Linked DNA regions of Homo sapiens: all the other regions are linked to region 4. The links are contacts of gene promoters, found by promoter capture Hi-C in blood cells and fetal thymus (Javierre and others, 2016). All regions are on one chromosome and are shown on one strand. Each heading gives the region's core, a stretch centred on a gene start or on the middle of the fragment in contact. The rest is flanking DNA. Distances are from core to core; before and after follow the strand shown. Region 1 overlaps ATAD2B (ATPase family AAA domain containing 2B). Region 2 overlaps SF3B6 (splicing factor 3b subunit 6). Region 3 overlaps FAM228B (family with sequence similarity 228 member B). Region 4 holds the start of ATAD2B (ATPase family AAA domain containing 2B). Region 5 overlaps FAM228B (family with sequence similarity 228 member B).

What was found. The method cuts DNA at HindIII sites, captures the fragments that hold promoters and counts their contacts. A CHiCAGO score of 5 or more calls a contact.
Region 1: a contact is called between a fragment that was not itself captured here and the fragment with the promoter of ATAD2B in region 4, in 1 of 17 cell types (megakaryocytes). The highest score is 6.5, in megakaryocytes.
Region 2: a fragment that was not itself captured here is called in contact with the fragment with the promoter of ATAD2B in region 4 in 17 of 17 cell types (total CD8 T cells, naive CD4 T cells, megakaryocytes and 14 more); the score reaches 15.7 in total CD8 T cells.
Region 3: a contact is called between a fragment that was not itself captured here and the fragment with the promoter of ATAD2B in region 4, in 2 of 17 cell types (megakaryocytes and M2 macrophages). The highest score is 6.4, in megakaryocytes.
Region 5: a contact is called between a fragment that was not itself captured here and the fragment with the promoter of ATAD2B in region 4, in 1 of 17 cell types (naive B cells). The highest score is 5.1, in naive B cells.

Annotation. Positions count from the first base shown.
Region 1 is chr2:23,789,464-23,793,540 of GRCh38, reverse strand. The region is part of intron 19 of ATAD2B (ATPase family AAA domain containing 2B); the gene reads left to right. Among named protein-coding and RNA genes, the nearest start is that of ATAD2B, 140 kb to the left of the region's middle. The HindIII fragment of the contact is 857 bases long and covers 1,002-1,858 here.
Region 2 is chr2:24,065,083-24,069,095 of GRCh38, reverse strand. It overlaps SF3B6 (splicing factor 3b subunit 6), which reads left to right. Exons shown (of 4, transcript NM_016047.4): 3 at 637-775; 4 at 1,245-1,510. The coding sequence ends at 1,334. Among named protein-coding and RNA genes, the nearest start is that of SF3B6, 9.2 kb to the left of the region's middle. The HindIII fragment of the contact is 283 bases long and covers 1,292-1,574 here.
Region 3 is chr2:24,168,966-24,172,869 of GRCh38, reverse strand. FAM228B (family with sequence similarity 228 member B) reads right to left here. Exons shown (of 11, transcript NM_001145710.2): 11 at 3,232-3,514. The region is part of intron 1 of LOC105374328 (a long non-coding RNA gene); the gene reads left to right. Among named protein-coding and RNA genes, the nearest start is that of FAM228A, 4.1 kb to the left of the region's middle. The HindIII fragment of the contact is 5,340 bases long and covers 1-3,904 here.
Region 4 is chr2:23,924,507-23,928,485 of GRCh38, reverse strand. It overlaps ATAD2B (ATPase family AAA domain containing 2B), which reads left to right and starts at 1,363. Exons shown (of 28, transcript NM_017552.4): 1 at 1,363-1,931. The coding sequence starts at 1,716. It also overlaps a transcript of UBXN2A not described here. RefSeq lists enhancers at 837-926, 513-1,429, 2,187-2,236, 1,430-2,348, 2,447-2,696 and silencers at 1,097-1,426, 1,627-1,706. The HindIII fragment of the contact is 2,488 bases long and covers 868-3,355 here.
Region 5 is chr2:24,125,944-24,130,185 of GRCh38, reverse strand. All of the region lies in intron 2 of FAM228B (family with sequence similarity 228 member B), which reads right to left. Among named protein-coding and RNA genes, the nearest start is that of FAM228B, 4.6 kb to the right of the region's middle. The HindIII fragment of the contact is 6,726 bases long and covers 1-4,242 here.

The sequences.
Region 1 (4,077 bases), core at 181-2,680, 140 kb after region 4:
TTTATAAACCCTTTCTGAAGATACTTGGAGAATTTTATTTGAGATATATGGGAATTGCAAGGTATTTATGGAGAATTAGAGAAGAGAGTTAATTTAAGGTTGAGCACAGAAAAAAGACTCTTAAGGGAGGAAGCAAATAAATTAGAGATATTTGTAGGAAGGAATGTAAACCTTGGCCAGAATTGTATTTCTGTTTCTGAAGACATTCACAGTATCTGCTTTGTTATTAAATTATTATGAGCAGGTTTAAGATTATATAATTCAGTATATTGGAAATGAATTTTAAAGAAATATTCCTCAGCTATGCTGATGAAAGTAAGATTACATATAGCATTTTGTTATCTTAAATGTTTCTTGTCATTGTCTCTCTAGGTTTATGGTAGGACCTGGGAGGGGAAAATCAGTAACTTCAATTAGAAAAATCAAGTAGGGGCATTGAAAACTCAGATTAATGATCATAAGATACAAGGGAACTGTTTTAATATTAATATTTTGGTAATAAAACAATTACGTGATTCTTAAAATTTAAGAGGAAGGAAATCTTCTCAAGTTTTTTTTTTTTTTTTTTTTTTTTTTTTGAGACAGAGTCTCTCGCTGTTGCCCAGGCTGGAGTGCAGTGGCACAATCTCGGCTCACTGCAAGCTCTGCCTCCCGGGTTCACGCCATTCTTCTGCCTAAGCCTCCTGGAGTAGCTGGGACTAAAGGCGCCCGCCACCACGCCCAGCTAATTTTTTGTATTTTTAGTAGAGAAGGGATTTCACTGTGTTAGCCAGTATGGTCTTGATCTCCTGACTTCGTGATCCACCCACCTCAGCCTCCCAAAGTGTTGGGATTACAGGTGTGAGCCACCGTGCCCGGCCACAAGTTTTTTTTCCCTAAGTGAAATAGGATAGTAGGTAAACATAGTTACTATTTTGAGATATGTAAACTATTTCTATTTTTATTTAATGGGTTGATATCCTATTTTGTTTTGAGCAAAGCAAATTTTATTTATGAAAGCTTTCTTAGGTTTATTTCTGACCTCTTTTTCACACCTTTTGTTATTGAGATCTTAAGTTCTTTTTTTTTTTTTTAGATCTTAAGTTCTTAACCATTAATTTTTCTTATTACAAAGGTTGCAGGAACCCTACCTTCAAAACTGGGGACTAACAATTCTAAGGAATGTGTTAATAAATTCGATAAAACAAAAAGGTTGGCCAGGTGCCATAGCTCATGCCTGTAATCCCAGCACTTTGGGAGGCTGAGGCTGGTGGATCACGAGGTCAGGAGATCGAGACCATCCTGGCCAACGTAGTGAAACCCCGTCTCTACTAAAAATACAAAAATTAGGCTGGGCGTGGTGGCACGCTGCTTGGGAGACTGAGGCAGGAGAATGGCGTGAACCCAGGAGGCGGAGCTTGCAGTGAGCCGAGATTGCACCACTGCACTCCAGCCTGGGCGACAGAGCAAGACTCCGTCTCAAAAAAAAAAAAAGATGGCTGTTATTAAAAAAAAACAGAAATTAACAAATGTTGATGAGGATGTGGAAAAAGGAGAACCTTTTTGCATTGCTGGTGGGAATGTAAAATTGTATAGCCACTGTGGAAAACAGTATGACATTATCTTAAATATATAAATGCCATATGATCCAGCCAATCAAGTTCTAGGTACTTACTCAAAAGAATTGAAAGCAGGGACTTGAACAGGTATTTGCACACCCATGTTCACAACAGCATCATTCATAGTAACCAAAAGGTGGAAACATCCTCAGTGTCCATTGATAGTTGAAAGGATAAACAAAATGTAGCATATACAATGGAACATTATTTAGCCTTAAAAAGGAGAAAATTTTGATGCATGTTGTAACATGGATGAAGCTTGAAGACATTATGCTAACTTAGTCATAGGACAAATTTTGTATAATTCCTTTTATATGAGGTTCCTTAGAGTATATGTAAATGGATGATAAGTGTATGAAAAGATGCTCATTATCAGTCATTCAGGAATGAAATACCACTGCAACCCACTAAAATATAGGTTGGGCAAGAGTAATTGCGTTTTTTGCCATTGAAAGCTGCAAAAAAAAAAAAAAAGTGCTTTTGCACCAACCTAATAGCTGTAATCAAAAATAAAGAATACCAAGTATTGGCAAGGATATAGAAACTGGAGTCCTTATATACTGCTGGTGGGATTGTAAAATGGTGCAGCCACTTTCCAAAGTTAAACATAAATTTATGGTATGACTCAGCAATTCCACTCCTAGTTATCTACACAAAAGAAATGAAAACATACTTTCACAGAAAGACATTTGTATGGGAATGTTTCTAGTTGTTGTACTCATACTAGCAAAAAGTGGAAACAATCCAAATGTTCCTTAATTGGTGAATGGCTAAACAAAATGTGATGAAATACTATTCAGCAATAAATGGAATGAAATACTAATACATACTACAACTTGGAAAAACCTGAAGTTTTAAGTGACAGAAGCCAGGCATAAAAGACTGTCAGTTGTATGATACAAAATGTCTAGAAGAGGCAATTCTCTAGAGACAGAAAGCATTATCAGTGGTTGTTAGGCTGGGACATGGGAGTGGGAGTGGGGATTGACTGCAGATAGGCCTGAGGAAACTTTTTGGGGTAATGGAAATGTTCTAAAATGTGCTTGTGATGGCTACACATCTGTAAAAATTTACTGAACATTATTGAACTGTTTTTTCAGAAATATTGGAAGGTGTGCCTAAGTGCATCTGGGAAAGTTAGGGAAGGCATCACACAGAAAGCATCAGCTTGAGTGGTGCATTAAAGAAGGGGTCAGGAATGAGTGAATACTATGTATCACAACCAGTGTGAACCAATGTGAAACAGAGCGTGATTTGTTCTGGGAATTATGGAAGGCTTGTCTTTGGTACACCATGAAGTTTGAGGCTAGGACTGTCAGAAGATAAAGTTAGGAGTGAACTTAGAGAAGTATAATTTATCCCACTTATAAAATGTTGGATTCTAAGGTGTTGGTAGTAACCTGGTAAGAATATCCATGGATTATTGTAGGCCTGTTCTTGGTATGCTTTTGTATTCATAAAGTGTTAACATAGTATTGAAAATTATCAGAGAAAATAGTTAAAATGAAATGTTTTGCCATTCTTGAACGAAATCGTGGTACGTCTAGGATATTAAGTTCTACTTATTTTTCAAGACCCAATTGATATAAGTGATTTCTGGTACATCTTACCTAGTGTCTTTTCACCCCTTGCAAGGTCTCTGCTCTGTTTTGCTACCTCTGTTACAGTACTCCCAGCATAGTATCATAATGCTTTTCTTCTGATACTCTAAAATCTTTGACAGCAGAGAACAAAGACATTTTCTTCAGTTTTATAACTGCAGTGTCTGGCATGATGTTTGACATACAAAGCATGTTCAGTAGTAAATTTACTTCCAGAACTTTCAAAGAAAGGCCATCAAAGCATTGATTAAAGGGTTGGAGGGAACTGTGCATGAAGGTAGTCTACAAAAGCACTGGAACGACACAAGGTGAAATTTTATGAACTTTTAAATGATTTGACTTTAGGTTGAGATAAATAATTCCCCATCCAGTTTTTGAATTCTGATGTTTACCTTTCATTGTTTCTTCTTCTCTTAGAATTTCAGAGCTGGAAAAGGCATTGACAGTTTATATAATTTAGTCTTCTTTATTCACTTTATTACCTTAAGCCAATTACTTAAATCTTTCTAAGCCCCAGTTTCCCCATCTGTAAAATGAGGAAATAATACTTACCTCATTGTTATGAAGGTAGAATGATATCATATTTATGGAATTTTTAAGGGTTCATTTCATAGGTTTAATCCAGTAAGTGGTTAGAAATGACAAACTGAATGAATTATTCAAATTTTACCACAAATGTGTGGCTAAATTTGGGCAGGAATATGATGTCTTTGATTCTAATCCATATTTTCACAGTGTCATGGTTGGTCTATCTTTCCATACTGGTGACTTTCTCCCTTTTTTTATTTGCAGTTTCCTGTTTGATTTGGGCTGGGTAACAAAAATCACAAGGTTAACTCTTTCAGTACATACTTATTAGGCATTGCTAAATACCAGGC
Region 2 (4,013 bases), core at 184-2,683, 140 kb before region 4:
GCAGGCGGATCACTTGAAGTCAGGAGTTTAAGACCAGCCTGGGGAACATGATGAAACCCTGTCTCTACTAAAAATACAAAAATTAGCTGGGCATGGTGGCACATGCCTCCAGTCCCAGCTACTTGGGAGGCTGAGACACAAGAATCACTTGAACTTGAGAGGCAGAGGTTGCAATGAGCTGAGATTGTGCCACTGCACTCCAGCCTAGGCAACAGAGTGAGAGTCTATCTCAAAAAAACAAAAACAAAAACAAAAACAAAACAAAACAAAGACAACGTAGAGCCAGTCAGGGTGGCAAGAGCACCTGTAGTCCCCACAACTCACGAGGCTGTTCTGTGTAGTAGCTGTGTTCTTAGTATTCCTGATGTGACAGTCAGCTTGACCTATGGATATTTTAGTTAAGATAAAAACGAAGAACAAAATTACCTAATTCAAGAAATTACAGGCTTATCCGGTATATCTATCCATGTTTATTTCCTCTGATGGTTTCAGGTTGATTTCAAAATACTTAACTAAAAACGTATTTCAATTTACTGTTTTTAAAAGACAGTTACCAGTTTAAAAGACAGTTCTGTAAGTCAACTATCAATGCTCAGGTAAATGTATATCTTAATTAAGTTTAACTTACCTCTCCAGGGGGAACACACCTGAAACTAGAGGAACAGCTTATGTGGTCTATGAGGACATCTTTGATGCCAAGAATGCATGTGATCACCTATCGGGATTCAATGTTTGTAACAGATACCTTGTGGTTTTGTACTATAATGCCAACAGGGTAAGTATAGCAAAGTTCTCATTGTGTAGTGATCTCATTTGAGAATTAGTGTAGAACTGGCCGGGCGCGGTGGCTCATGCCTGTAATCCCAGCATTTTGGGAGGCCGAGGTGGGCGGATCACGAGGTCAGGAGATCGAGACCATCCTGGCTAACACGGTGAAACCCCGTCTGTACTAAAAATACAAAAAATTAGCCGGGCGTGGTGGCGGGCGCCTGTAGTCCCAGCTACTCGGGAGGCTGAGGCAGGAGAATGGCGTGAACCCCAGGGGGTGGAGCCTGCAGTGAGCCAAGATCACGCCACTGCACTCCAGCCTGGGCAACAGAGAGACTCCGTCTCAAGAGAATTAGTGTAGAACTGTACTGTGATGATATATGTCTACTATGACTTTCTTTTTTGGCTAATGCTATTGATGAAATTCATTTGGCTGTAGATTGGTAATTTAATTTTGGTGCTTACCACATTTCCAGGCATTTCAGAAGATGGACACAAAGAAGAAGGAGGAACAGTTGAAGCTTCTCAAGGAGAAATATGGCATCAACACAGATCCACCAAAATAAATGTTTTCTACATTTTCATTTGGACTAAATCCCACGAATGACAACTACCACCTTTTTTTCCTTTTTAATTAATACTAAATATTGTGATTTCTTATTTGAGGTTCAAAATGACCTGCTTGAAACTTTGATACATATTGGAATACATTATGTTAATAAACTTGTAGCTTTTTGTGAAACACCTCAGTCTTTTCTCTTGAACTTTCCCTTCCTGTTTGATACCAGGAAAAAACAGTTGAAGCTTATCAAGAATTGTAGGTGCTCCTAGGGATTCTGAGTTTCTTGAGAACAGGATCTCTTTACATTCTTAATGCCTCCAGGGCCCGGTGCAGTGCTTAGCCATCAAAGGAACTTGCTGTTTATTGCATGTCCATTAATAATGAAATCTTCATAACAACTCAGTGAAGATAGGTATTTGCATTTTGCAGGTGAGGAAACCAAAGTTCATGATGTTGGTTGAATGAATAAAATGCTAACATACAAAGCTGGTGTGATAACAACCAGTTATTAACCAAGCCTTTACATTTGAATAATGCTTGCTTTATAGTTAACAAAACACCTGTGTCAATATGGGTACCCTTGTCTTTAGAACAGAGGTCTATTATAGAAATGGTCATTTAGATGATAGTACATTGTTAGAAACTTAGATTTGCCTCTTTAAATTGTTTTTTAATTATTATGGGTACATAATAATTGTCACATTGGTAGAAATTTGAGAGCAAGCTGCTTGGGTAGTGGCGTTGGTTGTTACATGTCTAAGATTGTATTTATGTAGACTTTTCCTTTAGTTATTAAGTATCTGTAGGTATATTGGACCTTAGCTCATAATATATCTTTGCCATAAATACTTAATGCTCATTCTTATTATCATGAGTTCCCATGACATGGAAACAGTATGGTTATTACCCCATTCATCATCATGGCAGCTTGGGAGAATATAGCCGTAATTTGCTTTTTATTGCTTAGGCATGGACCAAATGGAAAAACATGGACTAATTGTTTTGTGTGTGATTGGAACCTAAAATCAATTTGAAGGTACATACACTGAATCACTTCAATGTACAAAGAGCATCAATTCTGCTTTTAATTATATCTGAGTGTTTTTTGAAAGCAGTGTAAGAGAGTAGAGTCATTTCTAAGGGTGGGAAGATAAGAAAGGAGCTACAGCTGTAATTTTCTTTTGAATGCTTTTATGAATGCATTATTAGTTTTTGTAATGCACGGTGTGCCTTTAGGTAATGTAAAAAGAATTTTCTAAAAGACTTTCTTGTAAGAGAAAAACTGAAATTAGACTTTAAAACTTAGAGTGTGATTTGTCTAAGTGGCAGGCTAGCTTGCCTCTGGTGTAGTTGTTTTAATAACAAGGAGAAATTCCTTCTATTAGCAGTCATGACCAGTCCATCATTTGGATTGATATATCTGTTAGCTGAATTTCATGACCTAAAGTTAAGACTTAAAACTTCCCTCTAATTGTTTGGAAATTCCATATCCTGTCGCAATTAAGTTACAAGAACTTGCACTCAGTGGACAAACACTGACTCCCACTCTGCACACAGTACTGTACGAAGATGCTGAGGATATAATTATGATCGGTCCTCTGTGCAAGGCATCCAAAGCTCAATTTTTCAAATGCTTTTAAGAGTGCAACAGATGACTGTGTTTATATGTGCACACACATGTGCCAGAGCTGCTTTACTTTCATCTGGGTTAAATTTTTGAGTTTCTAAGAAAAAAATTCGTAGGAATAGAGAATTCATTGACTGAAAGTCTGAAAACAACTGATGTGACCTTGATCTTATTATTGCTCTTCTGTTTAACAGCTTTAGTGGCTCTCATAGGCCAATGTCCAGACTCATTAGCATACTGCATCATGATTTTCTGCATCATCTTTTAAGAGCTCCAGTAAAATGGTTCATTTCCCAGTTTACCTGCAGAGCCTCACCTGTCCTCTCCAGGTGCTAGCCAGTATGTGTTTGCACTTTGGGGGAGTTCTTTTAGTGGGTGTCTCCTTTGACCCACCTCAGTTATAAATACTCTAGACCAATATCTTTTATATGCCCCATAGTGGGCACCTGAAATAGTCCTTGATGCCATCTTTTGTTATCTTATTGGTGTCACAGCAGAAAATATGCGTATGTCTTTTATGCAGGCTGACTTCTGAGAAATTATTGTAGGCATTTGAGTCATCAAAGAAAGCCAGGAACCAAGACATTCTGAAGGAAATACCCTCTGGCTGGTCTAGTCTCACAATAGAGGTGAGCACAGGGACTTTGGTGACTAAAATGCAAGGCAGTTCCTTTCTCTCGTTTTCTCCATCCTAAAGCACTGCTTCTTCATTAGCTCCTCCACCCTCAGCAAAGGAATACAGCCAGGATTTCTTGGAGACAAAAAAGGTAGATCATGTAGCCAAGATGACATGGCCTCATAGCATATATATGACATCATGTGACATGTATCAGTGGGTCTATGAGGAACACTAACAGTACCTGTTATCAGCCCCTCCGTCCTCAATCTTGAAACAATTCGAAGTCGTCACTGATAGAAAACCGTATTGGCTGAGTGCAGTGATTTAAACCCATAATCCCAACACTTTGGGAGGCTGAGAGAAGATAGCTTGAGGCCAGGAGTTTGAGACCAGCCTGGGCAACATAGTGAGATTCCCCCATCTCTATTTTTTAAAAA
Region 3 (3,904 bases), core at 1,344-3,843, 240 kb before region 4:
TCTATCCAAAAAGTCTCTTTAAATCAAAAAGTCTAGGCCAGTCATGGTGGCTCATGCATGTAATCCCAGCACTTTGGGAGGCCGAGGTAGGAGGATCGCTTGAGGCCAGGTGTTCAAGACCAGCCTGGGCAACACAATGGGACCGCGTCTCTACAAAACGTTTAAAAATTAGCTGGGCATGGTGGCAGGCACCTGTAGTCCCAGCTACTCAGGAAGCTGAGGTGGGAGGATCACTTGAGTCCGGGAGGTTGAGGCTGAAGCAAGCCATGCTTGTATCCACTCCAGCTGGGAGACAGAACAAGACCTTGTCCCAGAAAACAAAACAAAAGTCTCAATGTTTGTGAAGTGTACATGTTAACCTTAACCATAAGAACAAATTTGCACCTAGATTTTTATTTTAAAAGTATGATATAGATTTAGGCTACCTGTTATAAAGAAAACTTAAGAAATTTCTAAATTTACTTGAACGAAGGAAAGGCTATGGAGAAGGCAGTAATGACTGATTCATGGAACAGAACTGATTTACCGAGACTTTTCTCCTTCTATAAAAAGTCAAGGTGAAGTAACAATATCCCTTTAATGCTGATGTGATTTCTAGAAGTCTGTTTTGACTGATGAAGTAATATAAAAGGGAAAAAATGCCAAGAACTAGAGTATTATAAAATCCTTCAGGGTCTCCCCATAAATTCCAAACGCTTTAGCATGACCTGTAAGATTCCTGCCTGTCTTTTTGGGCTCAGCTTTCTTCAGTGATTCCTGGCCTCCTTGCTCCACATGGTGGATTAGAGATGCCTGCGTGGTCCCATCTCTGGCAAATCCCTGACTCCACTCACAGAGGTAGACTTTTTTTTTTTTTTTTTGAGATGGCGTCTCTTGCTCTATTGCCCAGGCTGGAGTGCAGTGGCGCAATCTTGGCTTACTGCAGCCTCCCCGTCCTGGGTTCAAGCGATTCTCCCGCCTCAGCTTTTCTGAGTAGCTAGGCTTGCAGGTGCCCCCCTACCATGCCCAGCTAATTTTTGTATTTTTAGTAGAGATGGGCTTTTGCCATTTTGGTCAGGCTGGTCTCAAACTCCTAACCTCAGGTGATCCACCCTCCTCGGCCTCCCAAAGTGCTGGGATTACAGGCGTGAGCCACTTCACCTGGCCAGAGGTGGACTCGATGGCAGCACCTCCCTGTTCTTCTCTGTGGCTAATTGGTCAAGGAGTGTACACCTGACCCAAGTCTAGGATCAGATTCTCCTGTCTTTCTTCTAGGATTATAGACGTCTAACCAAAACAGAGACTTGGAAAGGTGTTGTGAGTCACGTTCATGACAACAGCCTAGAAGGGTCTGAGATGCCTGCTGCTCAGGGGCCAGTGCTGTCAAGGTTCCTGCCATTCCTGTGGAATTCAGTTTTTTCTCAGGGTTCTGTAAGATGCTTTGGCACTCTTTCAATGAAATTTTTTTTTTTAATCCCAACCACTAGACCACCAGGGACCATTTGTGCTTATGTTAGCTCTGGTTAGCTTGTTACTTGCAATACAAATGATCTCAAATAATACAGAAATAGTACAAGGCTTCAGAGGAAATGTGAGATATTTGGAATTGGTATTCGTGTCAAAGTGCAGGGAAAGGAAAGGCATCTTCTCTTCACCATGTGGAATGAGCAACTATATTTGTGATACGACATCTGGGATTTGCTTCAAAGTCATCCAGTTAGGGTTGAGAAGTAGGTATGCATATACACAAAACAAGACTGGACATGAGGTAATCAGTATTGAAGCTGGATGTCAGAAACATAAGGATTCATTATACAATTATAATTATTTTTTCTGTAATTCTCTGAAATTGTGCATAGTATAAAGTTTTAAAAATCTAGTTTTCAGCCAGGTGCAGTGGCTCATGCTTGTAATCCCAGCACTTTGGGAGGCTGAGGCGGGTGGATCGCTTGAGCCCAGGAGTTCAAGATCAGCCTGGGCAACATGGTGAGACCTCATCTCTACAAAAAATACAAAAAATTAGCCAGGCATGATGGCGTACACCTGTAGTCGTAGCTACTCGGGAGGCTGAAAGGCGGAGAATTGCTTGAACCTGGGAGGTCCAGCCTGCAGTGAGCCATGATCATGCCACTGCACTCCAGCCTGGGCAACAGAACGAGACCCTGTTTCAAAAAAAAAAAAAAAGAAAGAAAGAAAGAAAATCTAGTTTCACTTAGAACCATATATTGATTAGGGGTGAGATGTTGGGAGACTAGATAACTGTCAGGGTAGAATAATTTAAAGAGGATGAGGAATATGGAATGAGAGAAAAATGGATAATTTAAAGCAAGATAATATAAAGCTCAGATGCCAGAATGTGCAAGGCATTAAAATATAGGGCCACTATTTTTAATAAATCTTATTCCATCTGTGGCCCTCAAGTTCATAAATTGATCCTGTAGGTTGCTGAATTGCAATTCCAGATGGATTAACATTGCTGCCAGTCTTTTATATGAAATCTAGGGCATTGACTAGGAAAGAGGGGGATCTTGGAATTATATATATTTGGGGAACAGACAGAACTGAAGAAGTCAGACTCCCCCAAGTCTTTTGAAAAGGTTACCATGGTGTCCCTTTGCCTAAGGAAAACAGAATTCCACTCTTCTATGCTCTGTGTCCTACTGTGTCTTCCTGTGACCAAGATTCAAACTCAACATGAGCCAGAGGGCAATGTTTAGAATCAGCAAGTGAGTAATTATACCCTAAATGAATTTTTTTTTTTTTAAGATGGAGTCTTGCCCTGTCACCCAGGCTAGAGTGCAGTGGTGCAATCTCGGCTCACTACAGCCTCCACCTCCAGGGTTCAAGCAATTCTCATGCCTCAGCCTCCCAAGTAGCTGGGATTACAGGTATGTGCCATCACACCTGGCTAATTTTTGTATTTTTAGTGGAGACAGGGTTTTGCCACGTTGGCCAGGTTGGTCTCGAACTCCTGACCTCAAGACAGGTGTTCAGATGGAGGCCGAGGCGGGTGGATCGCTTGAGCCCAGGAGTTCGAGATCAGCCTGGGCAACATGCCTCAGCCTCCCCAAAGTGCTGGGATTACAGGCATGACCCACCTCACCTGGCCAACCCCAAATGAATTTTTAAATTTTCTAAAGAATGTTGGGAAAACCTGGGGAGGATATGTGGATGTGGCCATGAAGTGTGCATGACCAAAGGGAGCATACCTTAATTGAGGAACAAGCCAAATATACAGAGATGGACACTTAGTGAGGGAGCTGTAATTATTTTTATTGGTTCGTTCAGCAATATTTCTTAACTTCTGGGGAAAATACATGGTATTGCCATTTCTTAATTATCACAGACACTGAACTCAAAAATTAAAGGAAGTTCGTTGCAGATGCTTTTTTTTTAGAGACAGGACAATTCTTGAGTGCCGTCCTTGGCCTTCACCCTGATTCCTGTGAGCAGATGACTTCCTCTGAAGCAGCCTGATTTTGTGTATCCTTTCACCAATCAAGGATCAGGGTGTGTGCTCCTTGGTTGCTGAAACCTTTTGAAGGTGACAAAAGGGAAGAGTTGAGTGTGGTATGGGGATGAGGGGCTTACGAGAGCAGAAAGCGTTCCCCAGCTAAGCTGAGCTGATCCCCCTGAAGCCTGTCCTGCCAGAGCCGAGTGACTCATCTCTCAGGCAGGGTCTCCACCTAGGCCTCCTGCCTCAGCCTTTCCTCGCGCTGTCTGGAGTCAGAAGCACTGAGAGATTCAGGGACATGGTCAAATAGATGGGGTGGATCACTGATGTGTGACATGATTTGAGGGAACCCCTGTGGTCTCAGCTTTCAGATGTCAACATGTTTGGAGTACTAATTTCCACTTGGATTGTTGTGATTTAGAAAATACTAGGTTCCTTTCTTCCCTTTTCTCTTCAAACCTCTAAATTCTC
Region 4 (3,979 bases), core at 114-2,613:
CCTGCCTCAGCCTCTCAAGTAGCTGGGATTACAGGCATGCACCACGACACCTGGCTAATTTTTTGTATTTTTAGTAGAGAGGGGGTTTCACCATGTTGGCCAGGTTGGTCTCGAACTCCTGACCTCAAGTGATCCGCCCGCCTTGGCCTCCCAAAGTGCTGGGATTACAGGCGTAAGCCCGGCCTGTACTGTGAATTTTTGAAATGAACCTAATTCCTACTTTACAGCAGAGCTTTTCTTTCTTTCTTTTTCTTTCTTTCTTTCCTTTCTTTCTTCCTTTCTCTCTCTCTTTCTTCTTTTTTTTTTTTCTGAGACAGGGTCTGGCTCTGTCATCCAGGCTGGAGTGCAGTGGCGTGATTTCGGCTCACTGCAACCTCCATCTTCTGGGTTCAAGTGGTTCTCATGCCTCAGCTTCCCGAGCAGCTGGGATTACAGGTGCCCACCACAACACCCATCGATTTTTTGTATTTTTAGTGGAGACAGGGTTTCACCATGTTGGTAAGGCTGATCTAGAACTCTTGACCTCAGGTGATCCACCCACCCCGGCCTCCCAAAGTACTGGGATTACAGGCTTGAGCCACCGCACCCGGCCTACAGCAGAGCTTTTCATATGAATTGTGTGGCTTAATTTTTTTTTCTTTGGAAGTTAAATTGCAAATGCTTTATCTGTGGGTTCAGCTTTTTGTATTCTTAATTCTTCAGCGGGCCGGGGGCAGGGGGCGGCGATAGAGGCGGCTCTTACAGGGTACTCATTCTTTGGCTCCGCCTTAGATCTGGCTAAGGGGATAGAAAACGACCCTGCCTCGCTTTGTTTAAAAACGCAGAGTTCTAGCATGGTGTTTCCCCCCCCCCTTCTCTTCTTAAGCTTACCAAGTTCCAGATACCGCCCAGATGAATTTTTTTTTTATCACAGCTGTCATTCTCATTTCTACAGGCATGAAAAGTGCGACTCAAGTTCAGTGTCTTGCCTCGGGTAGCTTGGGGATTCCCAGTCAGCTCCTCGCGCCTTCGTCGCCGCTCCCCTTCCACCCCGCGCCTTCGCCGGCCGTCCCCTGCTCCATCCAGGCCACGGGGGTGACGGTGGGGTCTGGGGCATTCAGGCCTGGCTGGGCATGAGGGCTTCAGGCCCAATTCCACGCCCGAACTCGTCCTGATTAGTCTGGCTTTTCTGGTCGCCCCAGCCCTGCGGTCGGGGAGAGCTGGAAACCACCGAGCTGACAGCCTAGAGCGTCGCTCCCCGGCCGCCGAGCGCTGACGCCGCGCCGGGGGCGGGGCAGCTGGAGGCGGCAGGGAGAGGAGCGAGCAGCCGGGAAGGGCTGGCCGGCTTCGCAGCGCCCCGCCGTGGCTGCGGCCGGAAGCGGTCTCGTTGGCCCTGCGGCGCTGGAGCCTTGACGCACGGAGCTCGAGAGCGAGAACGGGAGAGAAAGGGGTAGAAATGGCGGCTCCGCTCGGCTCCCGCTGAGGAGGGCGAAGCCGGCGGAGTGTCTGTGCTGCCGGTCTGCAGCACCGCCCCCGCTTCCCGCACGCCGCCTGCTCACGCCGACTTCCCTTCCTCTGCCCGGCTCTCTCTTGTGCTCGTCTGCGCTCCGCACGCTCCGGGCCGGCTCGTCTCTCATTGCCCGGCTCGGCTCCGCTGGCCCTGACTGACCGGCCGGCGGGCCGGCCTTGCTCGGCTCTCCCGGGCGCGGCGTGGACTCCGTCCCCCTGGCTGGACCATGGTGAACACCCGGAAGAGCTCTCTCCGCCTTCTCGGGTCCAAGTCTCCTGGTCCCGGGCCTGGGCCTGGGGCCGGAGCAGAGCCTGGGGCGACCGGAGGCAGCAGCCATTTCATCTCCTCTCGGACCCGCTCCTCCAAGACCCGCGCCGCCAGCTGCCCCGCCGCCAAAGCCGGGGGAAGCGGTGGCGCCGGCGTCACTCTGGATGAGGCCAGGGTAAGAGCGCGGCGTCCCGAGTCCGGAGGCTCGGAAGTGCCGGCCCTGCTGCCGGGGCTTTGTCTGGCCGGGTTGGGGGTAGGAAGCCTACAGTGGAGACCGCTCGGGCGGCTGGAGACAGGGTCTGCGGGCGCGGTGGAGGGTGGCACCCAGAGAAGGGCCGCGACGCTGGCCCCTTTGCTTTTCAAGCTGGCCCGGCTCTTTTGTGTGAAGAACAGCCCTTGAGTCCAGGGGAGAGGGCTTTGGGGGTCCCTTTCGGCGTCATTCGAACGATCTGCTGTCCGTGTCCTTGTCCTGCCCCAGAGGGGAATTCTAGCGGGGAAGCAAGAGCGAAGGGCCAGAGCCCCTGGGTGGAAGGGTTGGAGAAGTGAAAGTTTTCTGCGGTGTCAAACCCTTCTTGAAAGTGTGTCAGTTCCTGCCGCTGTCTAACTCCAGCTTACTCTCAGTTTGGGGGTGGTTCAAGTTGGTGAGGAAGTGAACAGAGAGCTCCAGTTGGCAGCCAGGCAGGGATGCTGAAAAAAGTTTGTAGCTGCTCTGACACCAACTTTAAAAACAAAATCAACGCTATCGCCTCTCCAGGCAGGAGAGATCAAACATGATATTATAGCTGGGGAACCAGCCAGCTAGCTCACCAAGGTGCTAGTAGGAACCAGAGCTTTCAGGTCACAGAAGGAGCACGTCGAAAGAAACAAGTGGAATGTTTCGGATAGTCAGCACCATCATGCCAAAACTGTGTGGTTTCTTGGGTGTCTACATTTTTGTTATGGGACTATATTACAAAAGGTGAATGAACACCATAGTCATGCAGTTGCAAAAATGACATTTAAAGACGCTGGTGATTGAATTAAAAAACTGATTGAAAGATCTTGAAATTTTATTACCTACATTATAAAGCTAAGCACAGATATTTATTGTTTTAAAGGAATTGACACGTTTGTTTTACTATGAGATTGTTTCTGAATTCAGAGAAGAGTGTATTGCTTCTGTCTAAAAGAGGTTGACTTGCTAAGTAATTTGGCTGGAAAAAGCTGTTCATTTAAAATGCTCCTTTAATTCCACACCATTTTGTGGTTCTTATTGGGGGAAAGCAATATTTTATGTTCTAGGGGTCTACAAGATCGCGGTTTGTGTGTGCTTTTCTTTGTGTCTTACACTGTTTTGACACTAACAGAATGGATCTAGGCAGAGACAGGAATATTTTACCATACTACTCTGAAATATTTTTATTATATCTTTGAAAATCGTTTTGGCTTTTCTTTGATAAAATTTTGGGCATTATAACGTCCTATTTAATAGACTATTTTGGGGGCTTACAGCTCTCTTAGGTTGAAATAAGGTTAAATCTGAAAGTTGTGCAAACTGTTGAGAATAAGTACTTTGAAGACGAGGCTTTCGGTGGAAACTATTCCAAACATGTTCAAGCTTCTTGACCTACTGAGGCTATCACATATTTTAAAATAAAACTCAATTTAAGAAAAGATCTTTTCTGTACATTTAAGGACAAAGAAAATATTTAGGGTGTAAGCATTTAATCGTATCATGCTATGTGAATGCCTAGTCTGTTAGAGCAGTGTCTAACTCATCTGAAGCAATTAGCTCATCTTCACTCATCAGTTTGTGGTCCCATTTTTGAATTCATGGATATCATGCTGTCCTCACCCCCCGAGGAATAAGGTGAGGTAATTTGTCAAGCAGCTGTTATAGAGATGTTAAAAGGCTAGGAATCAATAATCTAATGAGGAAATGAACATTTGGTAGCTTTTAAATTGCTAAAAGAATGAAAGATATGAGAGCTCTTTGTAGAAGGGTACTAATGAAACTTTGTTTCAAAGATCCTTTTAAAATGTTTTAAAGCACCATAAATAACAGGGTACTAAAGATTTACTTTGAAATATTTGTTTTTCAGTCTTAAGAAGATTTATGTTCGGCTCTAGGAGATGATGTAGTCATCTAATTGCTTTCTCTGAAAGGTTTTTTTAGAGACGTAACTACTCTTACATAGTGATTGGACCTTTAGAAGAGGATAAATTATAATTCTGAATTTATTA
Region 5 (4,242 bases), core at 100-2,599, 200 kb before region 4:
ACATATACACCATGGAATACTATGCAGCCATAAAAGGGAATGAGATCATGTCCTTTGCAGGGACATAGATGAAGCTGAAAGCCATCATACTCAGCAAACTAACACAGGAACCAGAAAACCAAACACCGCATGTTCTCACTCATAACTGGGAGCTGAACAATGAGAACACATGGACCCAGGGAGGGGAACAACACACATCAGGGCCAGTCGAGGGCTGGGGGTGAGGGGAGGTGAGCATTAGGACAAACAGCTAATGCATGCAGGGCTTAAAACCTAGATGACAGGTTGATAGCAAACCACCATGGCATATATATACCTATGTAACAAACCTGCACGTCCTGCACTTGTATCTCAGAACTTAAAGTAAAATAAGAAAAATAAAAAGAAAATTATATTGACATGAAAATCTGAAAAAAAGAAGACAAGGATTTGAGGACAGTTATGATAGCTATGCTTAAAAATATGCTTATAATTAATGAATAGAAAATCTTAGCAGAGAATAGAAATGATAAAAAACCAAGTGGAAAATACAGTTCTTAAATTTGAGAAATAAACAAACCTCAATGGGTTAGTAGCAGATTAGAGATGACATAAAAATAGTCAGTGAACTTGAAGACAGACTATTAGAAATTACCCAATCTGAAAAAAAAGGAAGAATAAAGATTAGAAAATAATAAACAGAGTCATAGTGACCTATGAGACAATATCAAACGATTCAGCAAATGGATAGAGTTGCAGAAGTGAGGAGTAAAAGAATGGAGCAGGAAACAACTGTTTGAAAAAATAATGTCTGGATGAGAACTTTCACTTTTGAACAAGACAGAGTAGCAGGAAACAGACTTACTCTCCCACCTGAAACAACTAAAAAAAAAAAAAAAAGATAAAATAGATGAAACAACAGTTTCCAAGATATCGAACATCAGGCAAAGAAGAACAGTGGCCCCTGAGAAATAGAAAACAAACAGCCCAACTGTCTGCCTGAATTGAGGAGTGGGGATGGGAGTCTGGAGAGGCCAGAGCAGTTGGAGTTCATAGGTTAGAGTACTAGAGGGAGGAGAGCTACAAGAAAGATGGAGCTCTGGAGAACTGCAAAGGGTCAACCGCAGAGGTCCCCTTGAGTCTTCAGCTGATCGTAAACACTACATGCCCAAAGGAACAATGGGCAAAGAAACACCTGCAAGAATTAGGGAATCAATCCCTAGAGGTCACACAGTCCCAGGAGTGTTTGTTCCCTTTAGCATCAGCCAGAGGAAAAAAAAAAAAATTCCCATAGTTTGAAGTGCATAGAGTAGAGTATTTGGAGAGGTTTTGTATCAGTACTGAAACAAAATTGGCCCTACGGTAGATACTGCTGTGGTCCTGTCAAGCAAAACTCGGAGGCAAGACCTGAAAGAATCCTGCTGTGTCCAAGTAACTTAACTGAATCCAAGGGGAAAAATGAAAAATATTTATGGGAAATCTGTGCACTTGTACTTAAAAAAAAAAGAGTATTTATAGCAAATCAAAAATATCTAGTACTCAATATGGTTAAAATTCACAGTCTTGCATTTAATCAAAAATCATCAGGCATACAAAGAAATAGGAAAATTTAACCAATAATCACCAGGTATACAAAGAAATAGGAAAATTTAACCAATAATAAGAAGGAAAATTAACCAAAACTGCCCCCAAAATGACAAAGACACTATAATTATTAAACCAGGACATTAAAAGTTATTATTCCTGTAGTTCATAAGTTAGGGAAGCTAGAAGACTAGACATGTTGAGACAGAAAAAAATGTTTGAAAAAGAGCTAAGGGCCAGGCATGATGGCTCACACCTGTAATCCCAGTGCTTTGGGAGGCCAAGGTAGGAGGATCACTTGAGGCCAGGAGTTCAAGACCAGCCTGGGCTACATAGAGAGATCCCGTCTCAACAACAACAACAACAGCAACAAACCAACAAAAAACGAAACAAAAGAATCCAGATAAAACTTCTAGGGACACAAATTATACTTGAGATAAAAATATGCTAGGTAGGTTTATTAGCAGATTAGACATTACAGAAAGTTAGTGAACTTAAAAGCATAGCAACAGCAGCTTTCCAAAATGAAATGCACGGGGGAAAAACTGAAGAAAATTACCAGAATATCAGTGAGCTACAGGACAATTTCAAGCAGGTTATTGTACATACAGTTGTATTTCCCAAAAGATGGAGGGAATAGAAAAAATAATTTAAGAAATAGGCCAGGCACAGTGACTCATGCCCGTAATTCCATCACTTTGGGAGGCCAAGGCAGGCGGATCACTTGAGGCCAGGAGTTCAAGATCAGCTTGGCCAACATGGTGAAACCTCAACTCTTCTAAAAATACAAAAATTAGCTGGGCATGGTGGTGCACATCTGTAATCCCAGCTACTCGGGAGGCTTAGGCACAAGAATTGCTTGAACCCGGGAGGCGGAGGTTGGAGTAAGCTGAGATCATGCCACTGCACTGCAACCCGGGTGATAGAGTGAGACTCAGCTGAAAAAAAAAAAAGAAATAATGGCTGAAAATTTTCCAGATTTGTCAGAAACTATAAACCCACAGATACAAGAAGTTCAATGAACTCTGAGCAGTGGAGAAATTGTAACTTTCATACATTGCTATGAAAATTTAAAACGGTATCACTGCTGTGGGAAACAGTTCAGCAGTTCCTCAAAAAGTTAAACATATAGTTACCATATGACCCAACAAACAATTCCACTCCTAGGTTACATACCCAAGAGAACTGCAATCATGTTACCTAAAAAGTTACACAAAATGTTCATAGCAGCATTATTCATAACAGCAAAAAAACAGAAACAACCCAAAAGTCCATCCACTGATGAAGGGATAAACAAAATGTGATACTGAGACAATGGAATATTATTTGGTCATCAAAAGGAATAAAGTACTGCTTATGCTCTGACACGGACAAACCTTGAAAACATTATACTAAGTGAAAGCAGTCACTAAGGACCACATATTGTATGATACCATTTGTATAAAATGTCCAGAGTAGACAAATCTGTTTAGACAGGAAGTAGATCAGTGTTGCCAGGAGCCAGAGAGGGAGGGGAATGGGGGGTGACTGCTAAAAGGTGTGAAGTTTCTTTTTGGGGGTGATGAAATGTTCTGGAATTAGATAGTGGTGACAGTTGCACGGATTTGTGAATATACTAAAAAACACTGAAAATAAAAATTCTGAATTTAAAAAAAAATAAAAAACACTGAATTGTACACTTTAGAGTAGTGAATCTTGGCCGGGCGCCCGGTGGCTCACGCCTGTAATCCCAGCACTTTGGGAGGCCGAGGCGGGCAGATCATGAAGTCAGGAGATCGAGACCATCCTGGCTAACGTGGTGAAACCCCTCTCTACTTTTTTTTTGTAAAAATACAAAAACAAAAATTAGCCAGGTGTGGTGGCAGGCACCTGTAGTCCCAGCTACTTGGGAGGCTGAGGCAGGAGAATGGCGTGAACCGGGGAGGCAGAGTTTGCAGTGAGCTGAGATCACGCCACTGCGTTCCAGTCTGGGCGACAGAGCAAGACTCTGTCTCAAAAAAAAAAAAAAAAGTAGTGAATCTTATGGCATGTAAATTATATCTCAATAGGAAGAGTCCAACAGTAAGAATACAAACAACCCAACTTAAAATTGCCAATTTTAAAGTGGGCAAAAGATTTGAACAAACACTTTGCCAAAGAAGATAGATAAATGGCAAGTAAGACTTGAAAAGATGCTCATAATCAGTCATTAAGGAAATGCAAATTAAAACCACAATGAGATGTCACTATACATCTTTTTAAAATGTCTTGAGTTAAAAAGGCCATACAATAAATCAGTATAAATAAAACTATTCCAAATGTTGGCTAGATTATGAAACAACTGGAACTCTCACACACTACTAGTGGGAATGTAAAATAATTCAATGACTTTGGAAACTAGTTTGGCAGCTTCATAAAGTTAAATTCATTTACCATATGACCCAGTCACTCCACAACTAAATATCTACCCAAGAGAAATGAAAGCATACGTCCATACAAAGACACACACATGAATGTTCATAACAGCTTTATTTGTAATAGCCCCAAACTGGAATCAACCCAAATGTCCATAAACAGGATGAACAAATTGGGATATATCCAGATAAGGGAATAGCATTCAACCAAAAAAGGAATGAAGTATTGATACATACAACATGGGTGAGTGGCAAAATAATTATGATGAGTGAAAGAAGACAAACA